Linked DNA regions of Homo sapiens: regions 2, 3, 4, 5, 6 and 7 are each linked to region 1. The links are contacts of gene promoters, found by promoter capture Hi-C in blood cells and fetal thymus (Javierre and others, 2016). All regions are on one chromosome and are shown on one strand. Each heading gives the region's core, a stretch centred on a gene start or on the middle of the fragment in contact. The rest is flanking DNA. Distances are from core to core; before and after follow the strand shown. Region 1 holds the start of HEATR3 (HEAT repeat containing 3). Region 2 has its middle 13 kb from the start of LINC02128. Region 3 holds the start of LINC02168 (long intergenic non-protein coding RNA 2168). Region 4 overlaps CYLD (CYLD lysine 63 deubiquitinase). Region 5 overlaps CYLD (CYLD lysine 63 deubiquitinase). Region 6 overlaps CYLD-AS1 (CYLD antisense RNA 1). Region 7 overlaps NOD2 (nucleotide binding oligomerization domain containing 2).

Region 1 (3,234 bases), core at 332-2,831:
CACCCCTGCTCTTCTCAGCCACCTACCTACCCTCTCTGCTGTTTAACCACGTCAAGCTGCCTGCTGCTTCGCTTCTTTGCTGTTGCTGCTCCCTTTGTGGGGAATATTCTTCCCCCTATTTTCCCATGCCTCCTGGCTCTCTCACCCTGCACATCTCCTTTCACAAGTCATCTAAAGAGCACCTTTTTTTTTTTTTGAGACAGGGTCTTGTTCTATCACCCAGGCTGGAGTGCAGTGGTGTGATCATAGCTCACTGCAGCCTCGAACTCCTGGGCTCAAGCGATTCTCCTACCTCAGCCTCCTGAGTAGCTGGGATTACAGGCACCCACCACCATGCCCGACTAATTGTTTATAATTTTTCTACAGACGGGGTCTTGCTATGTTGCCCAGGTTGGCCTTGGACTCCTGGCCTCCAGTGATCCTCCTTCCTTGGCCTCCCAAAGCAATGGGATTACAGGTGTGTGCCACCGCGCCCGGCCCAAGAGCACCCAATTCAAACTTCCCACCCCCAACTCATCATCATCTCGTTTTCCCACAGCAATTCTCACTATTTAATATTATGTTTTACCTTTTTACTAGCTTCCTGTCTGTCTCCCCATCAACATGACTTGTGCCAAGACAGGGATCTTGGCTGTCAACAGATCTCGCTCAAAAGTCTTGGCTGCTCAAAGTCCCCTGCATCTAGAACGATTCCTGACACATGAACTGAAGAGTTCATCCAAGCAAGGGACCCTAAGGAGGGCTTTTGGAGAGTGTAAAACGTGCGCAAGGCGTGAGGGCAGGACGCCTGAGCAGGTGGACGCTGCAGGTGAAGCAGCCAGGTGGACAGATGAGATGCGGGGATACTGGGCTTCTCCGGAGCCTGGAGACTGGCTTCAAATCTCTGCAAACGGGAGACCGGGCCAGTGCCTGATGGCACACAGAAGGCGCTGGGTGACCGCTGCGACCGCCCGCAGCCCAGACGCGGGGGAGGCCAGCGGTGGGCACCGCCCCGCACCCTTCCTGGCTCACCTCAGCGCGCCGGCTGCAGTCTCCCTGACGGCCAGGCTGGGGTCTAGCAGCAGCGGCCCGAGGCGGCGCACGGCGTCTCGTCGCGCCAGGCCCGGGAGTGCCGGCCGCTGCTGCACCAGCCGGGCCAGCCCTGCGCAGGCGCACTCGCGGACCTCGGCGCTCGGGTGCTGGAGCTGCGGATGAGAGCGAAAAGGGTCAGAAGGCGCGCAATGCGCACGCGCGCGGGGCAACCTCGTCTCGCCTCCCGGCCCGACGGAGCCCTCGCCTCACCTTTTCCAGCAGCTCCGCCGCCGGCCCGTCGTCCTCCTCGCCTCCGGTCCCATTCGCCGCCGCAGCCGCCTCGGCCTGACAGTCGCCCGTAGGGGAGAACTGAGGTCGCTTGAAGCGCTTCGTCCGGCTCTTGCCCATGGTGACGTGCGCTGGGCGGACAGACCACCGAGAGAGGAGGGCAACAGCAGGCGGTGGAGGCTGCCGCGCCGTTAACAAGGTCCGTTGCTGCTGCTCAGCTGGGCCGGCTGACGGCTGCAGCACACATGGGCAAGCCGTGCGCAGGCGCACGGCGCGTCGTCTGCCGGGTCGGGGTTGGGGCGGGGCGGGGTGGGGGGAACTGGCGCACGGAGCGCGCAGGCGTGGAAGAGGGCATAGGCGGGGCCAGCTTCGGCAAAGGGGCGGAGCCTTGTGGGTTTACCGGGTAAGTAGGAGGTTGGACTAGAATAGTAACGCCGACCCGGGCGAGAGGATCACTTGAGGCCAGAAGTTCGAGACCATCTTGGGCAACATAGGAAAACACTCCACTCCCTGTCCTCCCCACCAAAAAAATTAAAAATTATCTGGGCATAGTGGCGTGTGTGTGTAGTCCCAGCTACTTGGGACGTTGAAGCCGGAGGATCACTTGACCCCAGGAGTTTGAGGCTGAGGTGAGCCGTGATCCTGCTACTGCACTCCATCCTGGGCGACAGAGCGAGACCCTGTCTCAATCAATCAATCAAGCAACCAATAAGTTAGTAACACCGGCTACAAATAATCAAATGTGATTAAGAATACCTAACTTGCAAGGTTATTGTAAGTTCTGTAAAGTTCATAAAGTTCTGTAAAGTGCCTAACACCAAGCCTGATATATAGCAGGTACTCAAAAAGCATTAACCACGATTTTATTTTGTGTCCCCAGCACCTCCCATAGCTCCTGTCGTAGACAGAGACTAGTTAATGTTTTGGAACGAATGTGTGTCTATATTTGATAAAACAGAATCGCTTAAGAACCTAATCTCCCTGCCTTAGTTTCCTCATCAGTGAAGTGGGGACATCGATAGTATATACCTCATGGAGTTGTTACGAAGACTAAATGTGTTCATATGTTTAAGGTGCTAAGAACAGAGACTGGCAGATACTAAGCACTATGTAAATGTTTGGAAACGTATTTAACAAAGAGATTCTTTTGCAGATATTTGTTGAGTACTAGGTACAGTGCTGGGCATTGGAATAAAGCAGTAATCAAGACAGTTTGGTTCCTGTCCTCTCTCCCTGTCCTTATGGAATTTACAGTCCAGGGAGAGATCTGTTGAATATATAATTATATGAATAACTTTGGTTATAATTGTGGTAAATACTAAGCAGAGGGAAAAGTACAGGAGAATCTTAGGTGGTCTTTATAATTAGACATGTAACGAGTGAGTACTCAATATATGCATAGCTTTGGGTCAATTTTCTTTTTTTCTTTTTGTTTTTGAAACAGAGTCTCACTCTGCTGTCCAGGCTGGAGTGCAATGGTGCGATCTCGGCTTATTGTAACCTCTGCCTTGGAGTTCAAGCAGTCCTCCTGCCTTAGCCTCCTAAGTAGCTGAGATTACAGGTATGTGCCACCATGCCCAGCTATTTTTTTTTTATTATTATTTTTAGGAGAGACGGGGTTTTACCACGTTGGTCAGGCTGGTCTCGAACTCTTGATCTCAAATGATCTGCCTGCCTCAGCCTCCCAAAGTGCTAGTATTACAGGTATGAGCCACCACGCCCAGGCTCAGGTCAACATTCTACTGGAGAAAATTTCCATTCCATGGTAACCCTACTGTCAAAGAGTTGACTGTCCAGTAAGGGAAATTAATTACTATGGCAAATTTTAGAGAGTAACAGAAGTGTAGCTCATGTTGCATTTGGGCCTATCAAAGATCAATCTTGGGCTGGGCACTGTGGCTCACACCTGTAATCCCACCACTTTGGGAAGCCAAG
Region 2 (3,234 bases), core at 479-2,978, 760 kb before region 1:
TACTGGCATTAGAAAAGTAGTAAGATCTCGAATTAATAACTTCAGCCTCCACCTTAGGGAACTAGAAAAATGTGGCTCACGCCTGTAGTCCCAACACTTTGGGAGGCTGAGATGGGTGGATCACGAGGTCAGGAGTTTGAGACCAGCCTGGCCAATGTGGTGAAACCCGTCTCTACTAAAAATACAAAAATTAGCCAGGCATGGTGACACGCACGTGTAATCCCAGCTACTCAGGAGGCTGGGGCAGGAAAATTGCTTGAACCCAGGAAGTGGAGGTTGCAGTGAGCTGATATCACACCACTGTGCTCCAGCCTGGGTGACAGAGCAAAACTCTGTCAAAAAAAAAAAAGAAGAAGAAGAAGAAAAGAAAGAGAAGAGAAGAAGGAAGGAAGGAAGGGAGGGAAGGAGGGAGGGAAGGAAGGAAGGAGGGAGGGAAGGAAGGAAGGAAGGAAGGAAGGGAGGAAGGAAGGAAGGAAAAGAAAGAAAGAAAAAAAAGGAGAGAAAATTAAACCAAAATGGAAGAAAGTAAATAAAAATTAGGACAGAAATCAGTAAGATAAAACATGAGAAAATAGGAAAAATCAATAAAGCAAAAACCTAGTTCTTTGAAAAGGTCAATAAAATCAACAAACCTTTAGACAGTGATCAAGAAAGAAGACAGAAAACACAAATTGCCAATATTAGGAATGAAAGCAGGTACACAACGATAGACCCTATGGAAATCAGAATGTTAAAGAGGTAATATTAAGGGTGACTTTACCAACAAATTTGACAATTTAGATGAAATGGAAAAAAGCCTTAAAAGACACAAACTACCAGGGCTTATCTGACAAGAAATAGCTTTTCATATAACTTTTAAAGAAATTTGATTCATTGTTTAAAACCTTCTCACAAACAAAACTTCGGGCTCAGATGGTTTCACTGGTGAAATCTACCAAACATTCAATGAAGAAACACTACTTTTCTATAAAGCAGAAGAGAAGGTAATACTTTTCAACTCATTTTGAGGCCGACATTGCCCTGATATCAAAACCAGACAAAGATACAACAAGAAAACTACAGACAATGTCACCCATGAACATAGACTCAAAAATATTTATTAAAACATGAGCAAATAAAATTCAGCAAAATAAAATAAAATAAAATATATAGAAAGGATACTACATCATGACTAAGTGGGGTTTAACCCAGAAATACAAGATTGGATTAACATCCAAAAATGTGTAAATTCACCACATCAATAAGCTGGAAAGAAAATGAAATGATCATCTCAAAAGATCTAATAACAGAGATTCAAAAAATTCTCATTATCTGTCTGGTGAGGACCTGGTTAATATTAAAAAAAGACAAAAACTAAAGAAAAAAATTCCCATTTTTACCACTTCTGTTCAACATCGTACTAAAGGTTCTAACCAGTGCAATAAGGAAAGCAAAAGAAATAAAAAACAAACATATTCAAAAAGAAGAAATAAAACTGTCTTTATTTATAATCAATATGATCATATATATTTAAAGAAATCTACGTGAGTTTAGTTAGCATGGTCACAGGTTGCAAGATCACTGTACAAAAATCAATGACATTTCTGTATACTAGAAATTAACAGTTGAATATTTAAATTTAAAAAAATTACAGTTGCTTCAAAAAGCATGAAATAATTATGGATAAACCTAATGATATCTATGCAGGATTTATATGCTGAAAACTATAAAACATTGCTGAAAAAAAATTTTTATAAAAGACCAAAATGAATACAGATAAACCAGGTTCATGGATCAAAAAACTCAGTATTGTTAAAATGTCAATCCTCCCTGCAATAGTTAATTCTAGGTGTCAACTTGGAGGATGTTTTTGAATGAGATTAGCATTTAAATGGGTGGACTTTGATAAGCGGATTGCATTTCTTCATGGGGGTGGATCTCATTCAATCAGTTGGAGCCCTAATAGAACGAAAAGTTCGACCTGCCCTAGCAAGAAGGAATTCTACAGCAGACTGCCTCCAGACCTCATCTGCACCAACAGCTCTCCTGGGTCTCAGCCTGCCAGACCACACTGCAAATTTGGAATTTCCAGCCTCCATAATCATGTGAGCCAATTCCTTATAATAAATATAAATATATATATGTTATACACACACACACACACACACACATACACACACACACACATCCTGTTGGTTCTGTTTCTCTGGAAAACCTTGACTAATACACTTCCCAAATATTTCTGTACATCCAATGTAATCCCAGTCCAAATTCTAGCTAGCTTTTTGTGGACATTGTCAAGCTGATTCTAAATTTACATAAAACAATGAATGACCTAGAACAGCCAAAACAATTTCAAAAAAGAACAGCAAAGCTAGAGGATTAATGCTATCTAATTGCAGATGAGATGGTGTAGTGTTTGCATAATGAAAGTCATATAGATCAATGGAATGGAATGAAGAGTCCAGAAATAGACCTACACCTCCATGGTCAATTTATTTTTGACAAAGTACCAAGGTAACTGAATGAGGAAATATTGTATTTTCAATAATAGTGCTAGAAAATGGGGCATTCATTTCAAAAGAAGTGGAAACTTAACCCTTATGTTGCACCATATACAAAAAGTAACTTGGAATGGTTCACCCACTTAAATGTAAGAGCTAAAGATTTAAAACTTCTAGGAGAAAATATACATGACCTGGGTTTTGACCAATAATTCCTAGATAGAAAACAACACGCTTAAGTCATAAAAAAATGATAAATTGGACTTCATAAAAATGTAAAACTCTGCTCTTCGAAAGATATTAAGAAAAATGAAAAAAACAAGTCACAAATTGAGAACAAATGTTTGCAAAACACATATCTGATAACTGTATGCATTCTCAATGGAGGTGATATCATTGAGGGGGCAAAAATTTGTTCTTGGTGGCTAAAAATTTTAGATATTATAATGATATGTGAGCCTGCAAAGGATCATGGTATATAAATAGATATATGATATGGCTGTTATTTACATTTCATAGTGGATGGGGGGAGACGTTAGGAAAAAATGTCTAAAAAGGCTCTTGAGGGGCAATATTTTAAAACATATTTAGAAACACTGGATAAAGAGAGGGCTTGTATCTAGAATAATATATAGAACTCTTTACAACACAAGAAGACAAAGAATTCGATTTAAAAATTGGGCAAAAATATGAACAGATACTACACCAAGAAAGATGTAGGAATGGCAAATAACCCCATGAAAAGAAGCTC
Region 3 (3,234 bases), core at 409-2,908, 740 kb before region 1:
CCTCAGCCTCCCAAAGTGCTGGGATTACAGGCATGAACCATCATGCCCAGCCACAAATTTTTGTATACACAAAATTAGATCTATTATCATACATAAGTTTTTAATAATCCACTTTTTTCACCTAATATAGTGTGAATTTTTGCTCATGTCCTTAAAAAAATTACATTCCAGAAGAATCATTAATGACTGCACATGGTTAATGGTTATGGTATAGTCTAGCTGTACCATAATTTATTACAGTCCTGCACATTTAACTTTTTCAGGTTTGGCCAGCATTATAAACAGTGCTGCTCGGAGTCTGATGGCTAATCTTGGGCACATCTGCGATCATGATTGCCTTAGAAAAATTTCCCAGCAACAGAATTGCTGGGGATGAGGTATGCACAATATGAAGGCTTTTGAAAACCAAGCACTCGTGTATCGGGCACCTACATGGCTCACAATTTGTGCAAAATGGGTTAGGGGTAGCAGGCAGAGAAAGAACCAAAGCAAGAGAAATCAGCATTCTGAGGGGGGGGGTCTCTGCACACACCAGACCCAGACACCATGGAAGTGCCACATGGGGAAGGGGCTTCCAAAGCACTGAGCCACCCTGAACGTCAGAGCTGGAAGGGACAGCACAGACTCTAATACAATTCTCTGTATTAGGAATGGGAAAACTGAGGCTCAGAGAGGTGCCACCCAGGAAGGGGGTGACCTCAGTACTGGAATCTTTCCAACATGGCTGTGTGCTTTGCTTGAAGTGAGCCCTGCTCTGGGAGAAGGGCCCGAGGTGGCAGGCCGAGCCTTGATATGAAAGTATAAACCATTTTCCCCCACCTCCCAAGCAGAGGTGGATGGGAGGGGGTGAGGAATGCTGAGGAGGCCTCCAGCCGGCCTCACACAGGTAACAGCAGCAGTAGTGACCCATTTGAGCCCCCATGGTGTGCCAGATGCTGGTCCCAGGACTTTGGGTCTGTTATCACTGAAACCACACACAAAATGAGCGACAGGGGCACTGTGGTTTTGTCAGAGATGCTTGCTCTCATTTGCACAGAAAGGAGTTCATGCAAGTCTTTTTATTATTATTACATGTCACCGCAACAGGGTATTGCAGTGGGGGAAAGAGACTGGACTCAACTCCCCACTTATGCAAGTCTTAATCCAAGTGGAATCTCTTCTCTGGATTTCTAGAGTGGCAGGTGAGGGGGCGGGAAGCCTCTTCTCCATAATGGCAGTGGTTCTCACACTTCAGCGTGTGCCCGATTCTCTTGGTGGGAAAAGGGGGAAGTGTTCAAAATGCACATTCCAGGGCCCTACCCTGAGAGCTTGATGCTGTAGATTTTGCACAGGGCCTCCAAGACCAAATTCTCTTTTTTAGAGACAGAGTCTTGCTCTGTCGCCCAGGGTGAAGTGCAGTGGTGTGATCATAGCTCACTACAGCCTCCAACTCCTGGGCTCAAGTGATCCTCAAGCCTCAGCCTCCCAAGTAGCTAGGACTACAGAAGTGCATCATTACACCTGTCTAATTTTTATTGTTATTATTGTATTTTTGTAGAGACAAGGTCTTGCTGTGTTGCCCAGGCTGGTCTTAAAGTCCTGGCCTCAAGCCCTGCCCGCCTCAGCCTCTCAAAGCGCTGGAATTACAGGTGAGAGCCACCACGCCCAGCCGGAGCCTGCATTCTTAAATGTCCCTGGATGACTACGACGCAGGTTGGTCCAAAGACCCCTCTCTGGGAAGCACTGAAGACAGTGTGGTTGATTTTCACATTGGGATCCTGACAAAGTAACCTGTACTAAAGTTAACACAGTAGATATGAGGCTTACACTGAGAAAGGGTCGCAAATAAAGGGAGGTGACATCAGAATCCTATTACGTACCGACATTCCCCCCATAAAGCCACAGATTTGTAATTCATTCATTCCTTTGCAGATTCCGGGACCTCACAACCGACCTTACGGCATTCGCCCAGTAGATGGCGCTAGCTCATTTTAAACCCCGTTTGTAGACGGTGCCTGAAAGCTCAAGACAGAGGGAGCAGCAGATGCAGAGAAAGGGCAAGACAGAGCCCATTATGAGAGAGGACAGCCACAAACAGAAATGGTCAACACTAAGCAGCTGTCCCGAAATGACGCAGAGGAAACTTAAACCCTCTTAGGGTGTAGTGTGTAATCTGGTGTGTTGGCCCGACTGCCACATTGGCTTTCAAAATCCCTGCTGCCTCCCAAGCCTGGGTTCTGGCTGCGGCTCGGAGTTTGGGAGCTTAGATCTAGGACAGCGCCATAACCAGTAATGACCACAAGATGGCGCTGCTGCACTCAGGGACAAGATGCCTGAGAAAAATCTCAATCTCATAAAACCATCTAAAGGATAAAGAGTGTGGCTTAAAATAGGATCGTGGAGGGAGATGAGAGGCAGAAAGAGAACTGCTGATTAGACTTGCACCCTGTCTCTCAAGTTCATGTTTACGATATTAGTACTAATGCTGCTGCTGCTGCCACTGGTGGCTGCTGTTTACTCAGGGGCTACGGAGTGCCAGGCACTGTGATAAGCACTTTCCGTGCATGGTTTCATTCAAAGTTCATCAAAGCCCTAGCAGGGGAGTCCTACGATGTCTCCACTTCTGAGAGGAAGCATTATTTGGGGAACTAGAGACTGAGACGTCTTGTGCTTTCTCAAAAGAAATGGGGACAGTAATCTAATTCTGAGCACACTGACAATAGACAGTGGGGCTTCCACGAATAAAAGGCTGAAACAGCCTGGACAACATAGCGAGAGCCCCCTCTCTACAAAAATGTAAAAAGCCAGCTGGGCATGGTGGTGTGCACCTGCAGTCCCAACTACTGAGGAGGCTGAGGCGGGAGGTTTGTGCCAGGCACTGATCAAGGTGGTAAGGAAAGACAATTAAAGGGACTAGGGGAGGTCCTGAGGAGCCCACGATAAGCCATGCAGCCAGGGGATCAGTGCTGTGGAGAAAATGAAGCGCACAGGAGTCTATATGTGCCTGTAGGTGTGTTTGAGATGATGGCAGAAGTAAACTGGAGCTGGCATCCATGGCTCACAAGAGCCCATTATTAAATTTTCAGGAATTTTGCGAGTCAGTTCTTGGATGGATCTATTATTGAATTATTAAGCTAACAAAGTATATAAACTTACAAATTATATAAACTTAAAATGAAATTATACTTAAAATAAAGGTAACAAATACTCGCAACTCATTACTTCCTAATTATTTTATATTTTACCATTTTCTGT
Region 4 (3,234 bases), core at 264-2,763, 720 kb before region 1:
TCACGTCACTGCATTCCAGCCTGGGCGACACAGCGAGACTCCTTCTCAAAAAAATAAACGAGTGACAGCAGTAACTTGCTGTTATCAAAGAAAAAGAAAATTTAGCTAATATAGATTTTTATCAGGAAATCTAAAGAATATTATATCAATGCTACAAGGTTTGTTTTTGTCAAAGTATTCTGCAAATAAAATGGCCGCCACTTTATTCTTCTTCCTACTTTAAAAATGTTAACATCCCATATTAACTTCCTAATTCTTATCATATGGCTACAGAACTGGCAGGCTACTCTCAATTTAGCCCAGTCTACAATCCTCAGAGCCTAAAGATTCTTGGTTCAATTTCCAGAGCTTAAAGATCCTTGCAATGTTAAGGCTGGGCGTGGTGGCTCATGCCCGTAATCCCAAGCACTTTGGGAGGCCAAGGCGGGTAGATCATTTGAGGTGAGACGTTCGAGACCAGCCTGGCCAACGTGGTGAAACCCCCGTCTCTACTGAAAATACAAAAAAGAAAGTTAGCCAGAAGTGGTGGTTCACACCTGTAATCCCAGCTACTCAGGAGGCTGAGTCAAGAGAATCGCTTGAACCTGGGAGGCAGAGGTTGCAATGAGCCCAGATTGTGCCGCTGCATTCCAGCCTGGGGGACAGAGTGAGACTCTGTCTCAAAAAAAAAAAAAAAAAAAAAAAAAATCTTAAGTTGTTCCACTTTGGAAAAAATTGCATATATGAGGGCAGCAGTGCTGCTACTGAAAATCGTTTTTTTAAAGACAGTAGTTTTATGACTGCCTTTACCTACTAAAAGAAATACAGCACATAACAGCCAATGGCTTTACTGCAAGTTATGTTGTTTGAGACATGCACAAAGATTTCCCAGATACCCTCTGTATATCTATTCCATTGTACCAATATCATTCACCTTTCTGGACACAGAAACATGAGACAACATTCAAAAGCTTAAAAGGAGTATGTCATAAAAAGCAAATCTCCCTTTCAATCCTGACCCACAGTCATCCAGTTTCTCTACTCAGAGGCAGATGGCAGTTTCTTTCACACACACTCACACGCACACACACACACACACCGGTATGTGTCCCTGCCTCATGGCACTATCTATACCTATTGCATTCTTTTTAAACTTACCAGAATAAGGTTGAGTCTAAGTAACAAGAATTGTAATGACCCTGGATGCCTTTCTTCTTCCCAATCATTATCTCCAAGCCTTCTTTTTCCATTTTTGGTGGAGTATTTTCTTCTACTACTTCACTTAAGTAGCCTCCAAATGCTGAAAAGATTTTTTTAAAAAAAGTAAATGAAAAGAATTCTTTTAAACTATTACAATATGTATTCCCATAAATATTTTTTCATTTTAAAATGTTTTTGTATTTTGATGCAAAATTTTTTCTTTAAGTGGAAAGTAGGCTTTGGTTAACTGCTATTTGACTTGGCTTATAAAAATTGCTATTGTTCATTTTCAACTTCATTTCCTCCAAGATTTAAAAACACACTTTAGAGTATTATGTGTAAAAAGCATCTGTCAAGTAAAATATGTTTCCCAAATATTTCACTATTTATCTGAAGTTGCTTCACTTTCAAGTTTGAAAAGAAAATGAAAATTCCAAAGTACTATTTCAACATAATAAGAGTGTTTTTCATAAAGATGGCTTTCCTGTTTGCACCTGCTGAAGCCCCAAGATGCTTTTCCACTATTATGTAGAAGTGGAAAGGAACAGCACCAGGAAACTGCCACCAATTACACATGATGAGGAGAGCTGTCCTCCAGCAATCAGTTGAAATCTACTTCTTACACTAAAATGCTGATTTCTTTGTAAGATACACTCACTGCTGTAAACAAGACACTGTGAGGGAAGTCAGTAAAAAAAAAAAAGAAGGTTACATTTCAATTTCTACCACTAGTATTGCTGAAAACTAAATGTCTGTCATCAACAGGAAGAGAAAAACAAACCACACTATTATTCACTTTATAAGTCCCAAACGCACGTCCTAATACTTTTTTAAGATGTCCCCTCTTAAAACAACTTTCTTATACACCATGCAACATTTTTACTGATTTAAAGCTTAATGAGCGTTGGCAAGAAATATATTAAAACACTGTCACCATCACCTAATATAACATGATATGAGATTAGAATTAGAGTCATTCCAGGTTGTTAAGTAAACAAAAAGCATCCAAATACCTAAAGAGTTACAGCGCTCAATCTGATTGGAAACCGGCTGCAATGATGCAAACCTAGAGTCAGGCCTGCAGCTCTTCAGTTTCACAAACAGCGCCTTCTTCAGGGCACAGGTGAAATACCGAGTGCCTCTGAAGGTTCCATCCGTACAGCCTGCACACTCATCTTCCTGAAAAAGAAATGCTTCAATATGCATTATACCGTGCCTTACAGAGATAGTATACAAAGAACTAAGGTTTCTAAGACCTGTTTCTAGTATACCCTTTCTCACCACTCCCTCTTCGCACCTGTACTGAGAACCTCATCAAGAAAAAGGAGTTGAGTAATCAGTGCTTCAGCCCACAGCTACTGATTTAAGAAGTGACTTCCTTAATCCAGCATGAAGTCCTTCTTGTATTTCCTTTCAGAATATATGCTTCAACCTCCCCTGGTTAAACGGGCTTTCCCGCACCATTTCTACAAGCATTAAAACAGGCAGGGAAGGAGAAGGCTATTTATTTTAACCCTCATTCTTGCCTCCCCACCATGCCCCATAAGATAGTATTCACTAGCATGGAAACAAACAAGAAAAAAAAAAAAAGAAATATATTTAAATTGGCCAGGTGTGGTGGCTCATGCCCATAATCCTAGCACTTTAGGAGGCCAAGGCGGGCAGATCACTTGAGTCCAGGAGTTTGAGACCAGCCTGGGCAACATGGCAAAACCCTGTCTCTACTAAAAATACAAAAAATTACCAAGCATGATGGTACATGTCTGTAATTCCAGCTACTCAGGTGACTGAGGCAGGAGAATAGCTTGAGCCCAGGAGGTCGAGGCTGCAGTGAGCCCTGACCGTGCTACTGCACTCCAGTCTGGGTGACAGAGTGAGACCCCATCTCTAAATAAATCCTAAACATACTCAACTTCTCCTTTCCTGATTACAAAATATCAAATGATATGTTCTCCTGATCTCTAAAGGGAAAACCTTTCCCTCTAGCAAAGGTCTCAAAAGATCTCTAAAAATGGTGATTAACTTTAAAGCCAGTGATATAATTATTAGAACTGA
Region 5 (3,234 bases), core at 310-2,809, 690 kb before region 1:
TATGTACTAAAACCACAGAGTACTAGAAGAAAACACAGGGAAATTCCTTTATAACCTTACAGTAACTCAAAATCCAGAATCTATTAAAACTAAAAGAATACAACAGCATAAAAATTTTATAAATCCTGCAAGGCAAAAAGCACCAAAGTCAAAAACATCACACCAAGTGAAATGCACCAGCTCCAAAGGACATATGTATGATTCCACTAATATGAGATACCCAGAGTAAGCAAAGTCATAAGGACAGAGAGCAGAGAACAGAGATGAGCAGAGGCTGGAGGGAAAGAGGAACCGGCAGCTATCTCTTCATGAGTATAGAGTTTCTATTTGGGATAATGAACAAGATTTCTGGAAATAGATAGTGGTGATGGTTGCACAACTGTAAACATACTTACACTGAATTATACACTTAAAAATTGTTAAAATGGTACATCCTGTTAGGTATATTTTACCACAATAAAAACAAATGAGGGTGACCAGAAAAATAAGCAATTTTAAAAAAAGACAAATGACAAATGAGGGTGGAAGAGTGGGCAACATTTGCATCTCGCATCACAGAAGAGTTTGCCACCCTAACACATGAAGAAATCAGTGAGAAAAAAGGCCAATAACCTAACCCAATTTAAAAATAGGCAACAGATGCAAACAGTTCACAGAAAGAAAAATTGCCCTTAATCATATGCAAAAATGTTCAACATCACTCAGAGAAATGCAAATTTCTATTTGCAAATGTATTATATACACTGAAATATATTTTTTATCTATCAGATTGGGAAAAAAGTTAGTAACACACTCTCATGGGAAAGCTATAAGTTCCCCCTTGTATTCTACTGGCAGGAATATAAATTGTTATATCTACGACTGAAGGCAATTAACAATATCCAGAACAATACCAACGCATACGCCCTTTCATCAAGCAACTCCACTTCTGGGAATATATATATCCTCCAGATATGCTAGCACATGTGGGAAACAGACATGTACAGGTTACGGTAACATTGTGTGCAATATCAAAAAGTCAGAAACAACCCAAATGTCCATTGATAGGAAACTGGTTAAATAAATTATGAAATTTTTTTCCGTACAATGGAAAATTATACACTATAAAAAACAAGAACCTCTGTTTGCAAATATACAAAGAGTTCTAACATATAAAATTAAGAGAATAAAGCAAACAGCAGAATAGTGTATCTACTACACTTCTTGAATTAAAAGGGAAGGGGGAATAAGAATATTTATATTGTATAAAGAAACACTGGAAAGATATATAAGAAATTCATAAAAACTGTGACTAGTGAGAAACGAAGGATGGAGTAAGCAGGCAACTGAGGCAGAGGGGATAAAAATGGAAATGAGATATTTTATTGTACTTTTTAATTTTGATTTGAGATACATGAATGATTTCTTCTTAAAATTGTTTTAATAACTTGATAGAGGTTTCTAATTCAAGGGTATATATATATTAGTTAGAACCCAAATAAATCCATATGTATGTCATTATATGTGTGACTTCTATCTGAAATGAAAAAGAAAACCCTAAATACTTATCTCTAGTTAATTAGATGCACACTGAAGTATTTAGGAGGAAGTGAACTGGTATCTGCAACTTAATGTGAAATGCACAAGAAAACGTGACGGATAAGTACGTGAATAGAGAGGTGGACAGATACATATAAAGCAAGTAAGATGTTGATTGTAGGATCTAGATGATATGCATAAGGATGCTCAATATAAAATTTTCAGTTTTTCTGTTTAAAATGTCATAACAAAACATTAAAAGATGTTTTATTAAAATTCTAAAACTAGAGAACTCATGAATCAATAAATGAGCAACTCAACAGAAAAACAGGCAAAAAATACGTGTTTAATAGAAGACACAAATGTTGTATAAACATATAAAAGGCTGTTCAATCCTACTTGTAATCAGGGAACTACAAACTTTTAAACCACCTTGAGATACCATTTCTCAGCTGTCAGGCTGGCAAAAATTTTAATCAGTACCAAGTGTGGAAAAGGAGGTGGAAACAACCTAAAACCCAAGCGTCCATTAATATTACAATGGGCACCAAACTGTGGGATAGTCACATGACGAAATATACTATGAAGCAGTGAGAGTGAACAAACTACTAATGCCCTCATCCACAGAAAAGAATCTCAAAATACATTTTAAGTAAATGATGCAAGTAATTTAAAAATCAGTAAGATTTTAACTACATTAAGTTCAAAAGCAGGCTAAACAGTATATTGTTTAGCTACAGAGATATAATTAAATTATAAAAAGCAAGGAAATAATTAATGAAAAAATCAGAATAATGGTCACCTCTAGGGAGAGATTGCAATTATAATGAAAACAAGGTATTGCAGGTGGTTTTCAAGGTACTTCTAATGTTCTGTTTCTTAACCTAGATGGTCAGTTTCATGAGTGTTCATTATTATTCTTAATATATGTTGTTATATATACTTTTGCAAATACATTCTACAGTAAAAAGTTTCTTTTTTGAGATGGAGTCTCGCTCTGTCACCCAGGTTGGAGTGCAATGGCACAATCTCAGCTCACTGCAACCTCCACCTCCCAGGTTCAAGCGATTCTCCTGGCCTCAGCCTCCTGAGTAGCTGGGACTACAGGTGACCGCCACCACGCCTGGCTAATTTTTGTATTTTTAGTAGAGACGGGGGGGTTCGCCATGTTGGCCAAGCTGGTCTCGAACTCCTGACCTCACGTGATCTGCCCACTTCGGCTTCCTAAAGTGCTGAGATTACAGGAATAAGCCACTGCACCCAGCCAAAAGTTTCTTAAATATGAAAATGATGAGCACATTGCCCATTTTTAAGGATTAAACATGAATTCGTATAATATTAACATAAACATTCAAATGAAATTGTTTAATAGCTAACTCAATTTTAACATGATCAAAACCAAGATCCTGACTTCCAACTCCCACTCCCCGACGCATGCTCTTCCTGTTGTCTTTCCCACCTGGGTAAATTGCCTCTCCAGCCTACCAGTTGCTCAGTCCAAACCTTGGAATCATCCTTGATTCTGTTCTCTCTCTCAAACCTCACACCCAACCCATCTGCAAATCTTGATGGGATCTTTACATTATATCCAAATCCTTCACTTACCATCCTCTTCATACCACCCCAGTCCCAGCCACCACCGTCTCTCACGTGGATAACTACAACAGTCTCCTTCCTGGTCTCCCTGTTTCTGTCCTCTGTCTAGTTTATTCTTAA
Region 6 (3,234 bases), core at 281-2,780, 670 kb before region 1:
CTCTGGACTAGAATATTTTCATGTCCCTTCTTTTTGTTTTTGTTGTTGTTGTTGCTGGGGTGTTTGTTTGTTTGTTTCTTTGTTTTGAGACAGAGTCTTGCTCTGTTGCCTAGGCTGGAGTGCAATGGTGCGATCTCAGCTCACTGCAACCTCCGCCTCCCAGGTTCAAGCAATTCTCCTGCCTCAGCCTCCCAAGTAGCTGGGATTACAGGTGCCTGCCACCACACCCAGCTAATTTTTGTATTTTTAGTAGAGACAAGGTTTCACCATATTGACCAGGCTGGTCTCAAACTCCTGACCTCAAGTGATCTGCCTGCGTCAGCCTCCCAAAGTGCTGGGATTACAGGCATGAGCCAATGTGCCCGGCCTATTTTTGTGTCCTTTCTGTTGATGGTGTTTGGTGCTGCTGAGGTCTCTACTTCCATAGGGCTTTCGTCCCCAGGCTCTGTCCTGTCATACGTTCACTGAATCAGTGCCGGGGCCTGACTTCATCTAAGGGATCTTCATCCAAGTCAAGCCTGACAAATGGGGCTTATCTCAATTATCATTTCCTATCAATTGGGAATGGCTGCTTAGAACATTGCGTTAAAGCTAATTCTGAACTTATATTCAGGCTCACCGGGAAGAGAGATATCTGCCAGGGGATAAGATGGGGAGATAGTGTCATGGTGCTATTATTTGCAGTCCTTGGTGAACCAGCCTCTCATTTTACAGGTAGTAGATGAAGGCCCAAAGACAGTAAATTACAAGCCCCTGTCACTCAGGAGATGGGCCGAGACCCTGATTCCAAGCCAAGACTCTTTCCACCTCTGTTAAAATGGATTCCCCAACTGAAATGCTCATCATCTCTGCCTTCCAAATCCTCCCTTCATGGAGGACCTAGTCAAAGTCCTTTACAGACATGTCTTCACAGAGGGCTCCAGCCCTCACTAATGACCTCTCTCAATCCACCACCCCACAGCCTCTTCCATCCAGCCTGGTCCTGGGTTCATGGAACTAGCGGTTGTGTTACTGAGCAGGTTCCAGGAAACATAGCAGTGTACAAGAGAGATGCCACACTCCCTCTGGCAAAAAAAAAAAAAAAAAAAAAGGCAAACTAAAATACTCATTAGATGATCACTTACTTAATTATGGCTGTGGTAAGCCTCAGAAGAAGAATCTCTCTGAGCATGCCTAAAGGGAGGTTGGCCACTCAGGGAAGGCCTGTTTGAGGAAGTCACCTTTGAGATGAGATGGGAAAGATAACTGGCAGGCAGGAGTGAGGGGGAACACTCCAGAAATAGGAAACAGGAAAGTGCATGACCTGTTGAAGAAACTGGAAGAGGCAGAGCGCAGACAATGAAGGCACAAAAGAGCCTTGGGAGCCAAGGACAGGGGTTGTTCTCCATCCCAAGAGCAATGGGAAGTTGTGAAGGGTTTTGCAGGGAACATAACACTGGTTCTTTTTTTGTTTTTTGTTTTTTGTTTGAGATGGGGTCTCACTCTGTTGCCTAGGCTGGAGTACAGTGGCACAATCATAGCTCACTGCAGCCCCCGTCTCCTGGGCTCAAGTGATCCTCCCACCTCAGTCTCCTGAGCAGCTGAGACTACAGGTACGCACCACCATGCCCAGCTAACTTTTCTCTTTTGAGTAGAGATGAGGGTCTCACCATGTTGCCCAGGCTGGTCTTGAACTCCTGGCTTCAAGTGATCCTCCTGCTTTTGCCTCCCAAAGTGCTGGGATTACAGGCATGAGCCACTGTGCCTGACCTAACACTGATTCTAAGCTGTCTTATGTAGTTCTCTCATTGCACACAGCGGGACCCTAACATAAAGCTATTGAATTGAATGGAGCTTTCCCCACGGAGGACGGTGAACTCCAGGTAGCCTGCTAGGGGCATGGGACATAGAGTAACACACCGTCAGGACTCAAGGGAACCTGCTCAGTGGCACCGGTCATGATTATTGACTAGACCCTGCTCCATGCTTCCCAGTGCCTACCACGGGGTACCTCCTACTTGCAGTCTCTCCAAATTTGGTGTCTCTTTTATATCCTACTGCCTTCTCAGCATCTCCACTCAACACAGCCAAAAGCGAACTCCTGATATTCACCACCACCACCCCCTGCAATCCCTCTGCACTCCCCATCTTAGTAAATGGCAACTCCCAGATGTCCATCCAACCTCCCATGGTTCCAGCCATTTTCCCACTAATCCTGTGAATATGGGCATTCAGAATGAACACCAGGCCAAGTGGCTAACTGGACCAGGTATCCGCACAAGCAAGGATACGTCACAGGCGCTTTCTCCACAGTAGCCCAGCACAGTGTTTTGATCCATGGATAACGGGCTGAGGTCTTCCATCTCTGAGATGTGCTTATCTCTTAGGGAAGGGAAATTCCAAGTGCAACTGAACATTCTGTCTGAGGACTTTTACTCTGACCACCTAAAAGCTCTTTTTGATAAGATAAAGGGGATTACTTTAATCATCTTTAAACTAATCCAGCCGAACTATAAATCCATGCTCTCCCATTTGAGCTATTTGCTGGTATCAATGACAAATAATTTCTATGTTTGATTTTTAAAACACACACAGAAAGCTCTTTATTAAAGGGAACTTTCTGCTACATCTGGATCCCATTTTGGGCAGTTGATGCATTAGGGATTGTTCCATGTCCCAGGGAATCTTCCTCCTTTACCAAGGAGACACAAATGATGTCAGAAAAAGGGTGACTCATTCTTATAAGCTGCCCCAACTTCTATTTTCTGCCCCCTTTAATAAAGAAAGTGGATCCTTCCTTCATTCAACAAATATGTATTGAGCACCTACTATGTGCTAGGCACCTTTGTAGACTCTGAGGACACTGCAGTGAGCGTGGTTCCTGTTCTCAAGAAGCTGACATTCTAGGGGAGGGGAAAAATGACCATGCATCAGGTAGTTCATGCAGAGAAGACAATACAAAGGAAGGCAGGCAGTGGCTGGAAACTGCTATTTAGGTAGATTGTTCAGGGAAGGACTACCTCATGTAGGTGGCATTTGAACTAAGACTGGAAGGAAATGAAGAAGCCAACCACACCACTGTCTCAGGGAACAGTGTTCCCATAGGAGGGGAAAGGCGAGTGCAGAGGTCTGGAAGCAGCAATGTGCCTGGTGTCCTCAGCAATGTGCCTGGTATGCTCAGGGAACAGCAAAGAAGCCAGTGAGGTTGGAGCCCAGAGAACAGGTGTGAGTGGCAAAGGGGAGGCCAGAGAGGAT
Region 7 (3,234 bases), core at 451-2,950, 660 kb before region 1:
CTCAGAGATGAGCTAACCTATGGAGGGCAAAATTCGTGGTGCTCTCCTGGTCTGCTCCATTTCAGACATCACTAATTGATTGCGGTGCTCTTTCTTTTTTCTTTTTTTTTTTTTTTCTACCCTTTTTAGACATCACTAATTGAATGCAGTGCTCTTTTTTTTTTTTTTTTAGCTTTTTTAGACATCACTAATTGATTATAGTGCTCTTCTTTAAGCCCAGGTGCAGCCTTAGAATTCTTTTTAATGTGGTGCACTGGGCACCCACTACCAATGGATTGGAATTGGTCCTTAAGATAAAATGTACCTGATCCAGCCCAATATCTTCAATTTACAGATACTGTATCAAAACCCTGAGAGGACAAGGGACATTTCCAAGTCACCCAGAAAGACTCGAGTGTCCTCTCTTGAAATCCAATGGTCTTTTTTCCTTACTCCATTGCCTAACATTGTGGGGTAGAAATAAAGTTCAAAGACCTTCAGAACTGGCCCCAGCTCCTCCCTCTTCACCTGATCTCCCCAAGAAAACTGCAGGATAGACTCTGAAGCTTACCTGAGCCACCTCAAGCTCTGGTGATCACCCAAGGCTTCAGCCAGGGCCTGGGCCCCCTCGTCACCCACTCTGTTGCCCCAGAATCTGAAAAGGCCAAAAGAGTCAACAGACAGTGTCAGTGAGTACCTGATATGTGTTCTAGACATGAACTAACAGTCCTCCTCCCTCTGCAGTCCCAGCCAGAGGGGCAGGACCACTCAATCCCAGAGTGGCCTCACTGGGGCTCCTGGTCCCAGCAAAGTGGACCTGCCTCCATCTTTTGGGTGGGATGGCCAAACTTAACCCAAGAGTTTTCAGTGGCTTTACATTACAGACTTAGAGAATAGTAGAGGGCTACCCAGCCCTAACCCTTAAGGACAGGAACTCACTGACAAGAGTAATTTACAGTTGTGACACTTTTTCTGACACTTAGTTCAGATACGCTTCCTGGTAACTGCCACCCACAAGTCCTTAGCTACCCTCCAGTACCTGCCCATAACAAGTCTAACACTTCTTCTGCAAGCTAGCTCTTTATCTCCTGCTTCTTCCTAACACCCCTAATTCCTTCACGCCATCAGCTTCAACTCCCCCAGCTTCTGGGCCATCCTCCTCTGACTCACTGTAGTTTGAAAACATCCCTTTCCAAAAGGTAGATCCCAACTCACACCTTCTGACTTATTGACTGTATTCTAGGGACCTACCCTGGACAGGTATGTACACAAGTTAGCAAAGAATGGCTGAATTAGGATGTCCACTGTACTTTCATTCATTAGGTATGTATCGATTGAGCTCTGGCTATGTGCCAGCACTGCTCTGTGCCCCAGGGATATGACACTGTAATAACAAAAAACCTGAAAACAACTTAATAGTCATCAAAAAGTGACCAGTTAAATACATTATGTAACACTCTGCAGCTCTTTGAAAAATGAGGTCAGGCTGAGCAAGGTGGCTCACTTGTGTAATCCCAATACTTTGGGAGGCAAAGGAGGGAGGATCACCTGAGCCCAGGAGTTTGAGACCAGCCTGGGCAACATAGTGAGACCCCGTCTCTACAAAACATAAAAATATCGGCCAGGCATGGTGGCTTGTGCCTGTAGTCCCAGCTACTCAGGAGGCCGAGGTAGGAAGATCACTTGAGCTCAGGAGTTCAAGGCTACAATGAGCTATGATTGCAACCACTGCACTCCAGCCTGGGTGACAGAGTGAGACCCTTTCTGTAAATATTAGTAAAATAAATAAATAGATAATTAAGTAAATAAAGAGGTCATAATGACCTAAAAAAATTCCTATAATATATGGCGAAGCAAAAAAAAACAACAACAAAAACAAAACAAAACAAACAAACAAACAAAAAAAAAAACCAAGCAAGTTACAGAACACTTTGTATCATATGACAGCGTTTGGGGGTTTTAGCACAACGCCTGGCCCAGACAGGTGCCCTAATAAATATGTGTTGAAAGAGGTAAATACCCCTGATGTGGCAGATGTGACCTCAAGCAGAAGAGAGTTCAGTGGGGCTGTGGCCTCCTTTGTTCTAGACTCTGTTGCTACTAATGCAGTGTGGAAAAGATGTTGATTTCTAGAGCAACATAGTCCCATTTGTGGCTCAAACTGAGCTTGGGGGCCGGGTGCGGTGGCTCACACCTGTAATCCCAGCACTTTGGGAGGCCGAGGCGGGCGGATCATCTGAGATCAGGAGTTCAAGACCAGCCGGGCCAACATGGTGAAACCCTGTCTCTACTAAAAATACAAAAATTAGCTGGGCGTGGTGGTGGGTGCCTATAATCCCAGCTACTTGAGAAGCTGAGGCAGGTGAATCGCTTGAACCAAGGAGGCGGAGGTTGCAGTGAGCCAAGATCGTGCCACTGCACTCTAGCCTGGGCAACAGAGTGAGACTACATCTCAAACAAAACAAAACAAAACAAAAAACTGAGCTTGGGGGCAACTTGCCTCCCTGTGAAATGGGCTGGAACACCTAGGCCCTAAGGTTATTCTCTCTTCCTACAGTCCCAGGTTCTAAAACTCCCAGTTCTTGTCAAATGGACTCCAGTTCACACTAGGGCATGACAGGATAGGAGAGAGGCTGCTGGAAACAGCACAGGTGCAAGCCTGGGTGCCTAGCAAACAGAGGAAGCCCACCCTGGGGCTGCAGGTTGGGGTACTCCCCTCCCTGGCAGGCCCTAGCATGGTCCTACAGGGAGCAAGAGCTCCGAGGGACCTAGCACAGCCCCTCTTATCCTGGGTGCCTTCCTATCCTTCCCCATTTCCTTCTCTTTCTTAGGTCAGGGGTCCTCACCCCTGGCTGTACATCCCCTGGGAAGCTTTTTAAAACTCCTGATACCTGGGCCTTGCACCTAGATATTTGCATTTCATCAGTCTGGGGTGGGAGGCCTGGCAATAGTGTTTAGAAGCTTCCAGGTGGTTTTAATATGCAGCTAAAGTACAGCCCTAGCGCCCCCTGAGGATCAGAGGGCTTCCTGTCACCAGCTCGTGGGCACTGTCCTCCCCTAGCCCCAACATCCCAAACTTCCTGTTTGTCAGGCATAGACCAAGTATGAAGGTGGCAGTCAAGGGCCGCCCACTCTCTCCCTGGCTTGTCCTCCCCACTGGAGCTGGGCTGCCTCTGGGGCCTCCTGGCTGAAGAGTTTCACCTGCCCCTAAATCCTCAAAAGTCCCAAGCCCCTCCATGCAGGTCCCTCTTCCTG

Evidence for each region. The method cuts DNA at HindIII sites, captures the fragments that hold promoters and counts their contacts. A CHiCAGO score of 5 or more calls a contact.
Region 2: a contact is called between a fragment that was not itself captured here and the fragment with the promoter of HEATR3 in region 1, in 5 of 17 cell types (non-activated CD4 T cells, naive CD4 T cells, total CD8 T cells and 2 more). The highest score is 7.0, in non-activated CD4 T cells.
Region 3: a contact is called between a fragment that was not itself captured here and the fragment with the promoter of HEATR3 in region 1, in 9 of 17 cell types (naive CD4 T cells, total CD4 T cells, naive B cells and 6 more). The highest score is 11.8, in naive CD4 T cells.
Region 4: a fragment that was not itself captured here is called in contact with the fragment with the promoter of HEATR3 in region 1 in 5 of 17 cell types (naive CD4 T cells, activated CD4 T cells, non-activated CD4 T cells and 2 more); the score reaches 9.5 in naive CD4 T cells.
Region 5: a contact is called between a fragment that was not itself captured here and the fragment with the promoter of HEATR3 in region 1, in 8 of 17 cell types (naive CD4 T cells, naive B cells, neutrophils and 5 more). The highest score is 11.0, in naive CD4 T cells.
Region 6: a fragment that was not itself captured here is called in contact with the fragment with the promoter of HEATR3 in region 1 in 8 of 17 cell types (neutrophils, monocytes, naive CD8 T cells and 5 more); the score reaches 10.8 in neutrophils.
Region 7: a contact is called between a fragment that was not itself captured here and the fragment with the promoter of HEATR3 in region 1, in 8 of 17 cell types (neutrophils, naive CD4 T cells, naive B cells and 5 more). The highest score is 16.4, in neutrophils.

Annotation. Positions count from the first base shown.
Region 1 is chr16:50,064,317-50,067,550 of GRCh38, reverse strand. It overlaps HEATR3 (HEAT repeat containing 3), which reads right to left and starts at 1,581. Exons shown (of 15, transcript NM_182922.4): 1 at 1,282-1,581; 2 at 1,012-1,184. The coding sequence starts at 1,419. HEATR3-AS1 (HEATR3 antisense RNA 1) reads left to right here and starts at 1,227. Exons shown (of 3, transcript NR_186390.1): 1 at 1,227-1,498; 2 at 2,744-2,860. RefSeq lists silencers at 859-1,118, 1,199-1,248, 1,579-1,628 and an enhancer at 1,479-1,773. The HindIII fragment of the contact is 22,013 bases long and covers 1-3,234 here.
Region 2 is chr16:50,825,746-50,828,979 of GRCh38, reverse strand. No RefSeq gene overlaps it. Among named protein-coding and RNA genes, the nearest start is that of LINC02128, 13 kb to the left of the region's middle. The HindIII fragment of the contact is 4,535 bases long and covers 1-3,234 here.
Region 3 is chr16:50,805,433-50,808,666 of GRCh38, reverse strand. LINC02168 (long intergenic non-protein coding RNA 2168) reads right to left here and starts at 1,995. Exons shown (of 2, transcript NR_146573.1): 1 at 1,860-1,995; 2 at 1,038-1,249. The HindIII fragment of the contact is 6,211 bases long and covers 1-3,234 here.
Region 4 is chr16:50,780,370-50,783,603 of GRCh38, reverse strand. CYLD (CYLD lysine 63 deubiquitinase) reads right to left here. Exons shown (of 19, transcript NM_001378743.1): 10 at 2,193-2,358; 11 at 1,138-1,279. Among named protein-coding and RNA genes, the nearest start is that of CYLD-AS2, 21 kb to the left of the region's middle. The HindIII fragment of the contact is 1,122 bases long and covers 953-2,074 here.
Region 5 is chr16:50,758,507-50,761,740 of GRCh38, reverse strand. All of the region lies in intron 5 of CYLD (CYLD lysine 63 deubiquitinase), which reads right to left. Among named protein-coding and RNA genes, the nearest start is that of CYLD-AS1, 17 kb to the right of the region's middle. The HindIII fragment of the contact is 8,236 bases long and covers 1-3,234 here.
Region 6 is chr16:50,737,226-50,740,459 of GRCh38, reverse strand. The region is part of intron 3 of CYLD-AS1 (CYLD antisense RNA 1); the gene reads left to right. Among named protein-coding and RNA genes, the nearest start is that of CYLD, 3.2 kb to the left of the region's middle. The HindIII fragment of the contact is 5,372 bases long and covers 1-3,234 here.
Region 7 is chr16:50,720,022-50,723,255 of GRCh38, reverse strand. NOD2 (nucleotide binding oligomerization domain containing 2) reads right to left here. Exons shown (of 12, transcript NM_001370466.1): 8 at 551-634. Among named protein-coding and RNA genes, the nearest start is that of CYLD, 20 kb to the left of the region's middle. The HindIII fragment of the contact is 2,305 bases long and covers 548-2,852 here.